Linked DNA regions of Homo sapiens: region 2 is linked to region 1. Evidence: promoter capture Hi-C in human tissues and cell types (Jung and others, 2019). All regions are on one chromosome and are shown on one strand. Each heading gives the region's core, a stretch centred on a gene start or on the middle of the fragment in contact. The rest is flanking DNA. Distances are from core to core; before and after follow the strand shown.

What was found. The method cuts DNA at HindIII sites, captures the fragments that hold promoters and counts their contacts. A contact is called where the count stands out against the background at its distance.
Region 2: a contact is called between a fragment that was not itself captured here and the fragment with the promoter of ZSCAN1 in region 1, in 2 of the 25 tissues and cell types used here (dorsolateral prefrontal cortex and stomach).

What each region holds. Positions count from the first base shown.
Region 1 is chr19:58,032,530-58,036,191 of GRCh38, forward strand. ZSCAN1 (zinc finger and SCAN domain containing 1) reads left to right here and starts at 1,496. Exons shown (of 6, transcript NM_182572.4): 1 at 1,496-1,632; 2 at 3,441-3,482. The HindIII fragment of the contact is 19,074 bases long and covers 1-3,662 here.
Region 2 is chr19:58,222,118-58,225,517 of GRCh38, forward strand. It overlaps the pseudogene LOC100419847. Among named protein-coding and RNA genes, the nearest start is that of ZNF544, 5.1 kb to the right of the region's middle. The HindIII fragment of the contact is 6,243 bases long and covers 1-3,400 here.

The DNA of each region.
Region 1 (3,662 bases), core at 246-2,745:
AACATGGGCTTCCAAGGGACTAAAGCCCTATCAGTCCCTCTCACTGATGTGCTCCCACCCCAGTGTCCAGAACAGTGCCTGGTACACATAGGCCCTCAATAAACAGCTGTCCAGCAGATGCTGGACCCCCTGGAGGTGGGTCCTCCTCTCTTTTCTTAGCTCACACTCTCCTGCTTCTTCTTCAGCAATGAGCAGCTTCAGCTATCCTGAGCTCAGTCCCAGAGCTGAGGACCCTCCTTGCATCATGATCTCACCCCCACCTGATTTCAGATACAAAACGAGTATCTGTGGAACCCTACTATTCTGGCACATGGTTACATTGTAGACATTAATATTAAAACTTATTTATATGAAATGTTCTTATGTAAGGTTTCGTTAAAGTATATGAAATATAGGACACATTGATACTAATTCCTTGTTTTTCTTTTTCTTTCTTTCTTTTTTTTTTTTTTTTTTTTTTTTTGAGACAGAGTCTCACTCTGTTGCCCAGGCAAGGCTGGAGTGCGTTGGCAGGTCTCGGCTCACTGCAACCTCGGCTTCCCCAGTTCCAGCGATTCTCCTACCTCAGCCTCCCGAGTAGCTGGGATTACAGGCACGCACCACCATGCCTGGCTAATTTTTGTATTTTTAGTAGAGACGGGGTTTCACCATGTTGGCCAGGCTGGTCTGAAACACCCGACCTCAGGTGATCCGCCTGCCTCGGCCTCCCGAGTTCTGGGATTACAGGCGTGAGCTATCGCGCCCGGCCTCCTTGTTTTTCTTGAGTTTACATATAACTGAGGTTTCTTTTTTCTTTCTTTTTTTTGGGGGTGGGGGGACGGAGTCTCGCTCTGTCACCCACGCTGGAAAACTGGAGTGCAATGGAGCAATCTCGGCTCACTGCAACCTCCGCCTCCCCGGTTCCAGTGATTCTCCTGTCTCAGCCTCCTGAGAAACTGGGATTACAGGCATGCGCCACCACGCCCAGGTAATTTTTGTATTTTTAGTAGAGACGGGGGTTTCACCATATTGGTCAGGCTGGTCTCGAACTCATGACCTCGTGATCCGCCTGCCTTGGCCTCCCAAAGTGCTGGGATTACAGGCGTGTCACCGCGCCCGGCCGACGTCCTGTATTTTTATTTGCTAAGAGTGGCGATCCTAGTCTGGGACATACTTGTACTAAACATATTTATATTAAAAACAATGTTTTAACATACTACTCTTGGACACTGTATAAAACGGTTGCGTGTCTGGAATGCCGTCGTTTTGCCCCGCGGCCCCATCGTACATGCGCATCCCCGCAGCCGCCACCGTCTCCACTTTCCGCAGCAGCGTCCCTGACGCTGCGCGACCCGTTGCCAAGGCGACTGGAACCGCGGCCCGAGGTAACTGGAGGGCACGGCGGGGGCGGGGCGCTCATCCCAGGCGGCTTCTGATTGGCCTCGGCCGCCTCGTGCGTCACAGCCCCGCCCCTGCCCGGGAGTCCCGCAGCGGTGACTTGTCACCGACGCCCGGCGTGATCCAGCGGACCAATGGCGGCCGCCCGCGGCGCGCAGGGTGCGGGGATGGGGTCCGCCCGCGGCGTTGGGCGCGCTCGCCAGCCCAGGGGTCGCCATGACCGAGTGGCCCAGGCCCGAGCGAAGCCCGCGCGCGGTGAGTCCGCCGCGGCCCATCCGTCCCTCCGCCCGCCAGAGCGTCCATCGGGACGCCCACCCGGGAGGGTCTCGGCGCCGCGTCGGCGGGAGCTGGCCCGGGATCGCGGTCCAGGGGCGCGCGTCGGGGGAGGCGGGCCCGGGCCCGGGAGGGGGCGGGCCGGGCCGGGGTTCCAGAGCCCATCGGGAGTCCTGAGGTCGCCGTAGGGGAGGGAAGGGGAAGGCTAGAGGCCACGCGGGGCGGGGACTGGGGGGGCTGGGGCCGCCCCTTCCGCAGGGACCCCGACCCCTGTTGGCATCCGCCTGTCCGTTTGAGGCCGAAGCCCCTCTACGTACCCCCATTGCCCGCCCAAACACCGCTCGGCCGCGTCCAAGTTCTCCCTTCCACACCTGATCAGCATCCCGGGACCTATCTCCCTCCTGAACAGCCGCCCCCGGACCCATCTCCCTCCCTACCCGGCCCCTTGGGCCCATCCCCCACTGGAACAGCAGCCCCCGACCCGTCTCTCTCCCTACAAGCTCCCCCTCCCCGCCCCAGGCCCATCTCCCTCCTGAACAGCCGCCCCCGACCCATCCCCCACCCAATCACCCCACCATCCTCCCCCCAACCAGCCGTCCACAGCCGTCGTCGCTGCCCCTCCCCTGTATTCCCAGTGCGCTGCCCTTGCACACTTCCCCAGCTCGTTTATTATGGAACTCCTCCGTGTGGCATCCTAAGCTCCCAACGCCCTCCCCACTGTAAGCCCCCTTCTCAAAGCCAGAACCATTCACTGACTGGCGCAGTGAACACGTCTTCTATGTCACTAAGCATCCGGCATCAGCGGCAAAGCCCTTCTGCCCATCCCCGCAATAGAATTTGGGGCTCGGGCTGCAGATCTCAGTGCCCATGCCAGGTGAACCTGGCCCTTCCACAGGCACTGAGCCCTCCAAGTGACACTCTCTCACACACACACATCCCCAACATTAATCAGAGACCCCTACCAAAGTAGACTTCTAGGACCCCAGGGCCACCACAGCATTGCCCATGGGGGGGCCCAGATCCTCCTCACCAGCCATGTAGACCTCAGTCCCCTTCACATCATCCCAGGCCCTCTTCATCTTCCAGAAACAGCCACCCATCAGTCCAGGACTCTCATCAGCTCAGGTACCCCCACATTGGCCTAGGTGTTCCACATCAGCCCCCATATAGACCCCAGACACACCCATGGACCTCTGGTGCCTTCTGCTAAGACCTCCTCTTTACCCTCATCCCTGATAAACTTAGCATCTCCTCCCACAGACCTCAGCCCAGGACCCTGGAGGATGCTGAGGGGCTACAGCCCCCCTCCCTAGAGTCTCCAGGGTGAGCTGCCATGAGCACCTGAGAGAGTATAAGGTCTGAGGCCCCAGGGCAAAGGGATTTCTTGAACCTGTGGAGCTTCAAAATAGGCCCTTTTTTCTTATTCAAAACTACATATATAAAAGTGTGAATACAACATAAGAGAGCATTTTTGCCTGTGGCCTTGGCAGGGAAGACCAAGCTGGTAGTTTCCCAATCAGGGTGCAGGTGGCCGGGTACGCTGACTCGAAGATGGCTGGCTGGGCACAGTCCCCGTGAGTTGCCTTTCTGCCACCCTGCACCTCTCCTTTCTCCTGGATTGTAAAACCAGATGCACGAGAACTGCAGAGTGTATGAAAAATGCAGCAGAGGATGAAGAGGGAAAAATCCCATGGAATCCCTCCTTTTCACTTGTCATAAGCATTTCCCATATGGTCAAAAATCCTTCCTAAAGATGTCTTGTTTTGTTTTGTTTTTCCATGTTGATGAAGGTCACATGGGAGCCCGACACCATTTGGAGGAGATTCAGAGAAGTATGAACAGCACAAAGCACTTGGCCGCCCCCCATGGGCGTCTTCCCAGGACTCCCTTTCTATGACACTCACGCATCATCCTGCATCCCACGTTCCCTGTGCCTCATGTCATCTGTACATCATGTGTCTACTCCCCGTGGTCATGTCATAGTGTTGTGTACTGGGCACGGTTGAATACTC
Region 2 (3,400 bases), core at 756-3,255, 190 kb after region 1:
GTTCTGTCACCTAGGCTGGAGTGCAGTGGTGCAATCTCGGCTCACTGCAACCTCTGCCTCCTGAGTTCAAACGATTCTCATGCCTCACCCGCCTGAGTCGCTGGGATTACAGGCATGCACCGCCAGGCCTGGCTGATGATTGTATTTTTAGTAGAGATGGATTTTGCCATGTTGGCCAGGCTGTCTTGAACTGGCCTCAAGTGATTCTCTTGCCTGAGCTTCCCAAAGTGCTGAGATTACAAGCATGAGCCACTGCATCTGGCCTAAAAAGAATTTTTTGTATGCTAAAATAGATACCATAAATTTAAAAAGAGAATAAACTATGTATTGAGAAAAATATTTGTTACACAAATGACAGACGAGATTAACATTGATAAACTATCATGAACGCCTATAAAGTGCCAAAAAAGAAAAAAATATTAATTAGACAAAACACAGAAAACAAAACCTCAAATAACCAGTAAGAATATGTAAAGATCCTGAAATCACAAGTAGCTAGGGAATACAAATTACACAAAATGTTACTTTTACCCAAAATACTGGCAAAATACAAAGGATAATACCCAATGCTGGAAAGAATAGGGACTATTATTCTCACTTTGGAAAGTAATTTGGTAATACCTAAGAGAATCAAAAATACACTTATCCTTCAACTTGTGCAGTCCCACTGGAGGGGCTCTGACCTATAGAAATGAAGGCACTAATTCTGGGTGTCCGGGGGTGTTTACTACAGTATTGTTTATGTTGTGTTTGGAAATAGAGAAGAGTGTGGGAGGTGAATGCTAGGATTTTACACTGAAAGAGGTGCAGATGAGGGGGAAGAAGTAGGCTGGAGCAAATTGAAAGTGATGTCTGCTATAATTAGTTAAGAGAAAATATGAATGTAAGGTTCAATGTATGAAGTTTTTTTTTTTCTTTTTCTTTTTTTTTTTTTTTTTTTAGACAGTCTTGCCCTGTTGCCCAGGCTGGAATGCAATGGCATGACCTTGGCTCACTGCAACCTCTGCCTCCCAGATTCAATCAATTCTCCTGCCTCAGCCTCCCGAGTAGCTGAGCCTCCCGCCACCATGCCTGGCTAATTGTTGTATTTTTAGTAGAGACAGGGTTTCACCGCGTTGGTCAGGCTGGTCTTGAACTCCTGACCTTGTGGTCTGCCCACTTCAGCCTCTCAAAGTGCTGGAATTACAGGCGTGAGCTACTGAGCCCAGCCACAAGGTATGAAGTTTTTCTAGACATGTAAAAGTGAGCATGCACTTGGGCAAAAACGAGAGTCATCCAAAAATGAAAACATAAGATTTAATTTCAGGATGGGAGTCTATGTCATCTTCTATTTGAATTTTCTGTTATTTCCTGAGTTCCAACTTTTTTCCACTCCAGATAATTCATACTATAATATTTCCATAAACCTGGCTCACAGAATAAAAGTTTGAAAAATAAGTTTATTTCAATAATCATTAGAAAAATTATAGTCGGGCACGGTGGCTCATGCCGGTAATCCCAGCACTTTGGGAGGCCGAGGCTGGCAGATCACGAGGTCAGGGATTCGAGACCAGCTGATCAACATAGTGAAACCCCGACTCTACTAAAAGTACAAAAATTAGCAGGGCGTGGTGGTGCGCGCCCATAATCCCAGCTACTCAGGAGGCTGAGGAAGGAGAATTGCTTGAACCTGGGAGGCAGAGGTTGCAGTGAGCCAAGATCGCACCACTGCACTCCAGCCTGGGCGACAGAACGAGACTCTGTCTCAAAAAAAAAAATTATGGAAGTGAAAAATTGTGCAAAAATGAGTGTGTACCAACTTTCTGTCAGAGCTTCACCTTAATCATCTAATAAGAAAGCAAACAAAAGATAAACTGTATAAGCATGCCAACAATAATCTTTATTTCTGCCATGTTTTACCCTTTAATATTCAGAAGAAAAGTCATACAGGAGGAAAATTTTATAACTATAGTAAATATAGACAACTTGAACAACACTAGATCTCTACTGGCCAAAAGGAAAAAACAAAAAACAACCCCCAGTATATCCCTAAATGTACACCAGAGAATCTTAAAAGATAAAATAATTTGGCCAGGCACGGTGGCTCCCGCCTGTAATCTCAGCACTTTGGGAGGCCGAGGTGGGCGGATCACGAGGTCAGGAGATCGAGACCATCCTGGCTAACACGGTGAAATTCCATCTGTACTAAAAATACAAAAACAAAATTAGCCAGGCATAGTGGCGGGGGTCTGTAATCCCAGCTACTCCAGAGGCTGAAGCAGGAGAGTGGCATGAACCCAGGAGGCGGAACTTGCAGTGAGCAGAGATCGCACCACTGCACTACAGCCTGGGCAACAAAGCAAGACTCAAAAAAAAAAATAAAATAATTCATGTGATTATAATAAATTTGAGAAAAACTTCTTTTATAGCTCTTGCCTTTCTCAAAGGGGGAGGACTCATCCTGGAGAGAAACCCCATGGATGTATTCAACATGGTAAATCTTTTTGATGGAGCTCTCACCTAGTTGCACATCACAACTTATACCAGATAGAAAATTTATGAATGTAATCAATGTGGAAAGTTTTTCAGCCTGGTGCTCCCACCTTGTTAGACGTATACTGAAGACTCTGGGAACATCGGGAACGTCAGAGAGCTTTCAGCAGGAGATCTCATCTAATTGGGCAATAGAAAACTCATACTGAAGAAAAACAATTCCATGTAATCAATGTGAGAAATATTTCAGTGACATCCTTGATTTTAATTGGCATCAGGGAAAGTGTAATAGAGAGAAGCCTTATGAATGTAGTCAAGGTAGGAAATCTTTCTATACAGCTCTGGCCTTGTTGCACATAAAATAACTCATACTGGAAAGAAGCTTCGTGACTGTAATCAGTGTTGGAAATGGTTCAGTTAGAGTTCTCACTTGTTGCTCATCAGATAAATCATACCGGTGAGAAACTGCGAGTGTCCTGAGTGTAGGAAATCAGCTGGAGCTGATTACTTATATGGCATCAGAGATTTCACATTAGAGAGAAACCTCATGAATGTCACTGGTGTGGAAAATCCCGCAGCAAGAATTCTCACCTTATTGAACAGCAAATAACTCATTCTGGAGAGAAGCCTATAAATGTAGTCAACGTGGAAAAACTTTCAGACAGAATTATTATTGTGTATGCACCAAAAAATTCATATGGGCAAAAGCCAACATGAATGTCTAAATGTGAAAAAGCCTTCAGGAGACTATCTGACCTTATGGAACACCAGATCATTCATAATAGAGAGAAACTGTATGCATATAATCAGTGCAGAAAGGCCTTTCAGGCAGCATTCTAATCATGTCAGGCACCAGATAACTCATTCTTGAGTCAAACTGTTAATGAACTTTTTATTTATTTTATTTTATTTTTGAGATGGAGTCTCG